3 separate regions of the Homo sapiens genome follow, and all the other regions are linked to region 1. Evidence: promoter capture Hi-C in human tissues and cell types (Jung and others, 2019). All regions are on one chromosome and are shown on one strand. The core of a region is centred on a gene start or on the middle of the fragment in contact, and the rest is flanking DNA. Distances in the headings are between cores, read along the strand shown.

Evidence for each region. The method cuts DNA at HindIII sites, captures the fragments that hold promoters and counts their contacts. A contact is called where the count stands out against the background at its distance.
Region 2: a contact is called between a fragment that was not itself captured here and the fragment with the promoter of PRDM12 in region 1, in 1 of the 25 tissues and cell types used here (bladder).
Region 3: a fragment that was not itself captured here is called in contact with the fragment with the promoter of PRDM12 in region 1 in 3 of the 25 tissues and cell types used here (H1 embryonic stem cells, IMR-90 fibroblasts and spleen).

Annotation. Positions count from the first base shown.
Region 1 is chr9:130,663,169-130,666,313 of GRCh38, forward strand. It overlaps PRDM12 (PR/SET domain 12), which reads left to right and starts at 1,426. Exons shown (of 5, transcript NM_021619.3): 1 at 1,426-1,708. The coding sequence starts at 1,486. RefSeq lists enhancers at 1-709, 2,000-2,673. The HindIII fragment of the contact is 18,845 bases long and covers 1-3,145 here.
Region 2 is chr9:130,907,514-130,910,658 of GRCh38, forward strand. All of the region lies in intron 5 of FIBCD1 (fibrinogen C domain containing 1), which reads right to left. Among named protein-coding and RNA genes, the nearest start is that of QRFP, 12 kb to the left of the region's middle. The HindIII fragment of the contact is 6,343 bases long and covers 1-3,145 here.
Region 3 is chr9:130,525,691-130,528,835 of GRCh38, forward strand. No RefSeq gene overlaps it. Among named protein-coding and RNA genes, the nearest start is that of FUBP3, 52 kb to the right of the region's middle. RefSeq lists enhancers at 70-571, 572-1,071, 1,836-2,336. The HindIII fragment of the contact is 3,402 bases long and covers 1-3,145 here.

The sequences.
Region 1 (3,145 bases), core at 176-2,675:
AGAGGAGAGGAAGGGAAAGAAGAGAGAGGCAGAGGAGAAAGAAAGAACTAGGAGGCAAGAAGGAAGGGGCGCCGCAACGCCACCGGCTTCCCGAGGTTGCAGCTCAGCAAGGAGCCGGAAAGCCGGGCCGCAAGCCGAACCCGCACTGAGGCCTCTCGCGGAGCTGCCTGCAGTTTCTGAGGGACTTCGCTCTCAGGCACGCCTGCTCCCACCTAGGAAGGGTCTCGGGACCCCTTTCAATCCCCCTATATCCCGTAGGAAATTCTTTTCCCAGAGACAGGCTGCCAGGGCGATTCCTGTCCGCCCATCTCGACCCCCGACCTGGCCCCGCAAGGGCCGGGAGCCTGGCCTTCCATGAAGCTGTCTCAGGCCGGGACCAGCCCCAGCCCCGACGGCCGCTGCGGCCCCGCCTCGGCAGCCCCGTGAGCCCGCGGAGGAGTTTCGCACCCGACCGTGCACAGCGACCGAGTTGGCGCGGCCCGTATGAAGCGAAGCGCCGGCTTCAGCAGCGCAGTCTGAGCAGGGGATCCGCGTGGCAACTAGGGCTGCGCGCGAGCTCGGGGCGACTGTGGCGGCCCGGGGAGTGCAGGGCCGGAGAGGGAAGAGGACGCGGGCTCTGGCCGGGGAGGGAGAGCGGTGCAGGGCTGGGCCGGCCAGCCGGGGCAGCAAAGTAAAGGTGAACGCCGGGCTGGGCCAGGCCGGTGAACATAGATCAGGCCTGAGGGGAGCGCGGGGCCCGAAGCCAGGCGTCCCCTCTTGTCTAGCCTGGTCCCTGGAGTCCTAGAGAGCCTCGCCGCACCCCCTCCCCTTCTCCGTCCCCTCCTCTCCTCAGAGCCGGCTGAGCCTCCCTCCCTGCCCTGCGCTTCCCACGGGGAGAGAAGGAAAAACAGGAGGGGGGAGGAAGGACCAGGAAGGGGAGAGAGGAGTGGAGGGGTACTGTTTGGAGCGGTCCGCGCGCCCCCGCCCCTCGCGCTCTCGCGACGAAGGCTCCTCGAGCCCAGCCGGGTACAACAAGTCTGTCCTCCGACGTCAGGGGGTCATTAATAACCAATTAGGAGGGTCACTGCGGCTCCTATAAAGGCGCTGAGATTTTGCCAAGGGGAAGACGGCCCCGGCCGAGTGTGCGAGAGGCTAGCGCGCGCCTGAGCCCCTTGCTGCCGCTTCCCTGCAACCACCCGCCTCTCACCCACCCTGCACCCCCCGCACCCGCCTCCGCCTCCACCCGCGTCTCTCCACCCTCCGCGCCGCCTTTGCCATCTCTACAGATTTCACCATCTCTCTTCCCCTCTCCCCCTCGTTCGCTTTCCTCCCAGTCGCCCCCTCACCTCCCGCTCCCTCCTGCGTCCTCCTCCTCTCCGTCCTCCCCCTGCTCTGGTTCCTTCTCCATCGCAGCGCTCTCCTCTCGCCCCTTGGGCTCCCCTCTCGCCCGCCCACCTCCCCCGTCGGCCCGGCCGTCCCCCGGCGCCGGGGAGCTCCGGGCCGCCCATGATGGGCTCCGTGCTCCCGGCTGAGGCCCTGGTGCTCAAGACCGGGCTGAAGGCGCCGGGACTGGCGCTGGCCGAGGTTATCACCTCCGACATCCTGCACAGCTTCCTGTACGGCCGCTGGCGCAACGTGCTCGGGGAGCAGCTCTTCGAGGACAAGAGCCACCACGCCAGCCCCAAGACAGCCTTCACCGCCGAGGTGCTGGCGCAGTCCTTCTCCGGCGGTGAGTCCAGCCGTCGGAGCCCGGCGCAATCCCTCCTCCCGGCGACCCCCATTCCCGTCCTGGCGATGCGCGAGACGCGGCTGGGATACCCGGCCTCGCTGCTACTCGCGCCAACCTGGGCTCTCCCGGCGCTCGGTGCACCTCAGTTTCCCCATGGGCCAAACCAGGACGCGAGCCACCAAGCAGCTCCGCAGCCCACCCGGCTCAAGGACCGACCCCGGCGACCCCGTCGCTCGGCCCCGACGCCCCCGCCGGCCCCTCCCTTCCCCTCCTGCGCTTGAGCTGGCGGGTTCCCGGCATTTACAGCCTTACTAGGCGTGTAATAGCAGTTGACTCAAAAAGAAGGGGTTTTAAATTCATTTAGTTAACTTGGGCTTGACCCACGAAAGTTCCCACTTAAACCAAGAACTTTAAAAGGCAGCCGGGGCTGGGGAGGGGGTGGAGGGAGGGCGGGCGGGGAGAAAAAGCCGCGGGGAGAGCGAGGGAGAGAAAGAGAGAGCGAGAAAAGTTTCTTTTCTTTAAGATGTCTCAAGTTCTTATTCCTCATTCATCAACCCGCAAACAATATCTTTCCCTGGCTCTGGCATCTCTGCGCGTCGCCCTCTTTTCCCCCTTTACGATTTCTGTTCCTCTCTTAATTTACCGTGAAGACTAATTCCACTTCCATTCACGCTATGTCAACCATCTAATCCCCCTTTTTTGTAAGGGGAATTCCTCGGCCCCTTTTAAACAAGTCCCCTCCGCATTGAGCTACAATTTACTGCTACAGCATTCTTCCAGGGCTAATGAATTTAGAATTAGCAATTTCTTTCGAATGGAGCCGAATGAATGCGATCACTTTAACAGCGTGACAAATTGCCCGCCGCGCCGCAATGGACACCGTTTAACCCCCCCCTTTCAGCCGGCCCGCTCGCCGGGTATTTTCCCAGGTAGCTTAGAGGGGAACCTTGTAAGACATGGAGGCCGCCCTTGTGCGCCTCGCCGCTTCCAGCCCTGCCGCAGATGCCCGACAGGGGAACCCTCGGGGAGCTGGGGGCCGCCGCGGCTCCTCCCCGCCCAGAGAGATGACATCGGGGTTTGTCTGAGCCCGGGCGCCGCCCTCCCTGGCACCCCAGGGCCTGGGAGCAGAGAGGGACTCGGGCGCGCCCGGGGTCACACAGCGAGCGCAGAGCCTGGCCAGCTGCTGCCGGTGCTTCTTTGGCACCTCCAACACCTGCCAGCCCGAGGTCTGTCCCCAGCGCTGATCACGGCCCGGCTCCTCTGCCAGTGCCCAGAGCCTGGACACACAGTGGGCTCCCGGAAGCCGACTAGGCGAAAGAGTCTCCGGTTGGCCTTCACCTCCTTGCAGGACCTGGCCTCAGTTTCCCTGTGCATAAAACCGCTCGCTGCCGTTGGCTCATTAATTCTTAAACTTATCCGGGGCAGAGGATGGAAGAA
Region 2 (3,145 bases), core at 245-2,744, 240 kb after region 1:
GACAGGAAACCACTAAGACCCTAAACTTCACATGTCCACCCCAGTGGACTTCCAGCTGGACTAAAGCTGTCAACCTAAAACAACACTAGAAAAACAGAAGAAAAGCCTGGGCGCGGTGGCTTACGCCTGTAATTCCAGCACTTTGGGAGGCCGAGACGGGCAGATCACGAGGTCAGGAGTTCGAGACCAGCCTAGCCAATATGGTGAAACCCCTGTCTGTACTGAAAATACAAAAATTAGCCGGGCGTGGTGGCGGGCGCCTGTAATCCCAGCTACTTGGGAGGCTGAGGCAGGAGAATCGCTTGAACCCGGGAGGTGGAGGTTGCAGTGAGCTGATATCATGCCACTGTACTCCAGCCTGAACTACAGAGTGAGACTCTGTCTCAAAAAAAAAAAAAAAAAGAAAGAAAAGAAAAACAGAAGAAAAAATAGAGGAGACTTAAAAAAAAAATAAAACTAGGAAGGGAAGGAAAGGAAAGCAGGGGCTAAAACCCAGAAAAGATACAAAGAAAAGGGTGGCAGAACTGAGTGCATAAACATCTTAAATTTCTAGGAAATAAATAATAACATGACCCCACAAAAGAAAAAGAAAAAGCTGAAAGACAAATGGCCAGAAGTTAATACCTATCATGTGTTGGACAAATGATCGGTAACCTTAATATATAGAGAGCTTCCATGACTCGATAGGAAAAGACAAAGCACTCATTGAGAGGGGATGGGGAGGGTGGTGCGGCAGAGGAGGGACTGGCGCTGTTGACATTCCTGTCAGGGCTCGTCTGCAGGATGCTGGAATGAGGACCTGCTTAAATGCTTCCTCCCGCATCATCTGCAGCTGCTGATAGATTTCAATTAAGATACCATGAGCACGGGCATCACCGCTGCTCCAGGGGGTGGGTGGTGGCGAGGGCATGCCTTGGCCCTGCCGCCTTGTCCTTATCTTTACCCCCAGCTTGGGGAGCCTGAGGCAGGGTCTCCCCATCTCCCCTCCTTCCACCCACCAGGTTCGGGGATGAGGCGAGCTGGGTTGGGCGCCAGTGTGTAGACCCTGCTGGGGCTCCCCCAACCCCAACACACGCAGGCTTGTGACAAGGGACCTCCCTTTCCTAAGCCTCAACTTCCTCATCTCTAAAAGGAGGGGACGACAGCAGGGCCCCCAACTAGGTGGGTGTGAGGCTTTGGGGACGATGCATGGGAAGCGTGTAGCTGGGTGCTCAGTGGGTTGGGGGTCAGCACGGGGTGTGGGCATGAAGTCCACACGGGGTGTGACCTTCCCTGTTGTCGGCACCCCCTGGGCACCAGGGCACGGCAGGTCAGAGAGGGCCCTGCTCTCATGGGCCCCGGTGAGGAGGGGGCATGGGTGGCAGATCTTGCCCAGGGGCCTCCATGCACACAGAGGGGCGGCCCCGCCTCACCACCCCAACCCTGCCTTTGGGGCCCCCGACCCCCCATCTTCCAGGGGTGTCACTGAACATCCTTACAGGCCTGGAGCCCTCCTGACCCCGGCTGGTGCCCAGACCTGCGCTCTCAGCCTCTCAGGTGGTGCTTCCCGCCAGGCACGCAGGCCCACCCTCTCCTTCCCGCCTAAGCCTCCCTACCAGCTCTGACCCCGCTCGCTCGCAGGGGAGTTCCTCAGATGTCCACACCCTTCTCACCCTCTCCCTCCACCACCAGCTCTGCCCCGCACTGGGGAACTCCCGGGATGTCCTCACCCTTCTTACCCTCTCCCTCCCTCCCACCCAAGGCGCCCCCTCCGCCGCCCCTCGCCCCCAACCCCCACAGCTTGTGGAACTCCCTGGATGTCCGCACACACCCGGGGGGCTTAAGTGCAGGAGGACACTGTGGGGCATTCGAGGCCGCCCAGATGACACTCGGGGCACACATTCCCCAGCACCTGTGCGTTTCATGTATATTCAAAACCTGCAAGGAGTGACTGCTCCCGGGGGTACAGGGTTTCCTTCTGGAGTGAGGAAAAGGTTCTGGACCCAGTGGCAATGGTTGTAATATTCTGAATATACTAAAAACCACAGGGTCATACACTTCCACACAGGGAATTTTGTTGTATGTAAATTATATCTCAAGAACAACCAGAAAAATCCACCTCATTTCAAGCCATAGCCACTTCCCAAATATATATAGGTAGATAGGACCTCAAAGTTGTGATTCTTTTAGGATGTTTTGTTAAGATAAATGTTTTGTTTAGATAAATGAAGTTTTGTTTAGAATATTTTGTTTAGATAGTGAAATGTTAAAAAAAAAAAAGAAATGTTAAGGACTTTCAAAAATTCTAAAATACTGAGTGAATTTAAACATAGGTAATGATATTGACAGAACCTTCTGAGCTCCTACTTTGTGCCAGGCAGGGACTGTGTCCCAGTGGCAGGAAGGCGTGCGGTTGCCTCCAGGCCCAAACAGGAGCCCTGGCTGGTGAGAGGTGACAGCGTGCTGGCAGTCCTCACAGCCCTCCCTCGCTCTCGGCGCCTCCTCTGCGTGGGCTCCCACTTTGGCGGCACTTGAGGAGCCCTTCAGCCCACCGCTGCGCTGTGGGAGCCCCTTTCTGGGCTGGCCAAGGCCGGAGCCCACTCCCTCAGCTTGCAGGGAGGGGTGGAGGGAGAGGCGCGAGCGGGAACCGGGGCTGCGTGCGGCGCTTGCGGGCCAGCTGGAGTTCCAGGTGGGCATGGGCTTGGCGGGCCCCACACTCAGAGCAGCCGACCAGCCCCGCTGGCCCCGGGGCAATGAGGAACTTAGCACCTGGGCCAGCGGCTGTGGAGGGTGTACTGGGTCCCCCAGCAGTGCCAGCCCACCGGCGCTGCACTCGATTTCTCACCGGGCCTTAGCTGCCTTCCCGCGGGCCAGGGCTCGGGACCTGCAGCCCGCCATGCCTGAGCCTCCCACCCCCTCCGTGGGCTCCTGTGCGGCCCGAGCCTCCCTGACGAGCGCCACCCCCTGCTCCACAGCGCCCGGTCCCATCGAGCACCCAAGGGCTGAGGAGTGCAGGCACACGGCGCGGGACTGGCAGGCAGCTCCACCTGCAGTCCCGGTGCGGGATCCACTAGGTGAAGCTAGCTGGGCTCCTGAGTCTGGTGGGGAGGTGGAGAGTCTTTATGTCTAGCTCAGGGATTGTAAATACACCAATCGGCACTCTGTA
Region 3 (3,145 bases), core at 243-2,742, 140 kb before region 1:
GAAACCCCTTCTCTACTAAAAATATAAAATATTAGCCGGGCATGGTGGTGGGTGTAGTCCCAGCAACTCAGGAGGCTGAGGCAGGAGAATTGCTTGAACCCAGGAGGCGGAGGTTGCAGTGAGCTGAGATCGTGCCATTGCACTCCAGCCTGGGCAAGAAGAGTGAAACCCTGTCTCAAAAAAAAAAAAAGAGAAAGAGGATACATTTATCACAGCGGGTGCAATGTTCAGCCCAAATCATCTTTTGGGCCACCAGTCATGCCTGTTGTATTTGGGAAATGCCAATCATTGCACAAATGGGGAGACTGAGGCCCATAGAGAAGGGCACACCCTGATGAAGGGCCAGTCATAGTCACGACCAGGCTGGAATCTGCAGCCACCAGCCTCTGGATGTGCCTCACCCCAGGGGTCACAAGAGGCCCAGCAAGGAGTTAATGCCACTGGGAGGACAGTGAGGCGCCCCCTGGATCTTGCCCCCCAACTCCAGGAAAGAGGGTAAAGGTGAAGGAAGAAATGGCTGGTTGCCTCCACACTGTGTGCCCTCAGCCCATCTGGGTTGGGCACCAGGGACTGGGCAGGTGTACAGACTTTACTTCCTGCAGACCCCAGGAGGGCTGTGGCATCGGGAGGGAGACTGAGGCTGCCTGGCCGAGGGGAAGTGGGATGGTGACAGTGGCCGCGTTGACGGCTCGGCCCCAGGCGCTGCGCCTGAGCTCGTCTCAGCCAAACGTCTAACACTCATAGAGACACAGGCTGGGAAACCAGAGCTCAGAGAGAAGTCACTTGCAAGTCAGGGGCAGAGATGGGATTCGAACCCAGATCTGTGACTCCGGGCCCTGCGGGCAAGTGCCTAGGAAGATGGTGGGGGCCCGTGAGGAATCATCGCAACCAAACCAGCTTCCCTTCTGGCCCCGCACTGAAGCCATGTGAGCTTTCTGGAACACAATTGCATGTTATTCCTCCCTCTCTTGCCTGAGCTGAAAGCTTCCTGGGGCTCTTTAAAGTGTGACGCTGGTCCCTGGCCACCTCTGGAGCCCTGTCCCCACCTGTCTGGACTCCCTTTGGATTTTGTCCCTCAGCTAGACTGACCCATTTGCAGTCCCTCAAAAGCTCTGCCACCTGCAAACCGGGCCACCTGGGCCCAGGCTGAGCCCAGTCTTCCCCACCATCAAAGTCTGCACCCGCAAGGACAGAACATGCAGCGCGTACGGTGCACACTGTAAAGTGCGGTGCCCCCGCTACATGACGACAAGGGAGAGCAGATCAAACCCAGCCTGGCTGCAGCTGGCGAACGCTAAGAATCCAGCCGCTCAGACCGTGGTCTCTCACTTCCCTGGCATGCCCTTCACTGCCTCCTCCCGCCCCGTCCTCACTGTCCCCACTGTCCCCAGGGGAGGCAGGTCCACCCTCAGATTTACCAGGGCATGTTAAGACACAGTTTGAAGCCATCTCCGAGGTCATGAGGTCATGGCAGTTTCCCATCGATCTATTTGTCCCTCCCTTGCCTGACGCCCTTTGCCCCCATGGGCCCCCAGAGCCATATCAAACTTCAGCAGTTTCTCCCAAGGTCCAAGGAGCCAAAACACAGGGCAGGGCCTTAAAACACAGCCAGCGGGCGATTTACCAGCTGGGCTGCCCAACCCCTGACCTCCGGAGGAGATGTAATGCATCTCCCTGGTTTAGCCGGATCAATGGTGCTGTGAAAAACAGCCCCATGTGGGCCAGTTGGGACAGGAGGGAGACACCCCTGCCGCCAGAAATCCCACCCGGACAGCCGCGGAGTCAGCCTCCGTGCACACGCACGGCCCCAGGACCTCGCTGGGCTCGCCGACTGTCTCAGGCAGGAGCTGGGATTGCTGAGACCAGCCCCTAGAATTCGGATGGGGAAACTGAGGCTGGGGGGCTTCTCAAGGTCACAGAGTAAGTTCAAGGAAGCCTCCAGTTTCCCCAGGGGGAACTCTCCCTGCTCAGCTTCGGCCTTCTCCTGTGGGCGAAGGTGGCAGTGGCCAGCCAGTCTGGTGGGGCAGTCGTGGTATTGGGGGTATCATAGGTCCCTGGAAGGCCAAGCTTGGCTGTCCCACAGCCTCTGGGCAGGACCAGTGGACCCAGTGTGCCTCCAAGGTGGGACTTCCTGCCTTTGACTCTGTGTGGGGCAGAAACTCCACCTTCAACAGAGTGTCCTGCCTGAGTCACAACATCCCAACGAGGGCAGAGGCCAGAGGCAGCAAGCCACCCCATGCTGGGACCCCCTTGCTCCCCAGAAAGCACAGTAGCCCATATTTAGGGAGGAAGGTTAACAAGAGCAGGAGGGCTCTGCTTCCAAATTCTCCTCGGTCCTCGTGTGACCCTCTACCCCTAGCCTGAGCCAGCAGGAAGAGCAGGCGGCTCTACAGCCTCCCGCCTTCAAGCAGGGGCCATAGACCCACAGGGGCCCCTGGGAGCTCACTAGAAAGGCAGAATCTGGGCCCCTTTGCTCCAGACCTACTGACCACAGTCTGCATTTTAACAGCTGATACATGCGCGCGCCAAGGCTGAGAGTGCTGGTGTTTAGAACCTCCCGGAGTGAAATGAGAAGGGGCGAGTGTGCATGTGTGTGTTAAGATCTTTACCCTAAAGAAAGGGCCTGAGATGAGGAGGGAAGGTGGGAAGGGAGTTAGGTAAAAAGGAAGGTAGAATGGAAGGGAGGAAAAAAAAGATACCCTCCAGATGTCCAAAAAGTATCTGAAGTAACTTCATTCACCTCCCATTCCTTCACTGCATATTTATTGAGCATCAGAGACATGCTAAGCACTGAGCTGAGCGCTGGGGTAGAGCAGCGAGCAAAATGGGCGAGACCTCAGCCCCATGCGCCCCACCACCCCACAGCTTACGGTCTCAAGCTGTGCTGTCCGGAACAGTAGCCCCACCACGTGTGAGCGCGTGAACTGTGGCCGGTCCCCATTGAGATGCGCTGTGAGTGTTAAATACACACTGGATTTCAAAGACAGTGCAAACTGGCCAGGCGCAGTGGCTCACACCAGTAATCCCAACACTTTGGGAGGCCGAGGCAGGAGGATTTCCTAAGCTCAGAAGTTTCAGACCAGCCTGAGCAACATGGCAAAACTCTGCCTCTACAAAAATACAAACATCAGCCCGGCCTGTACTC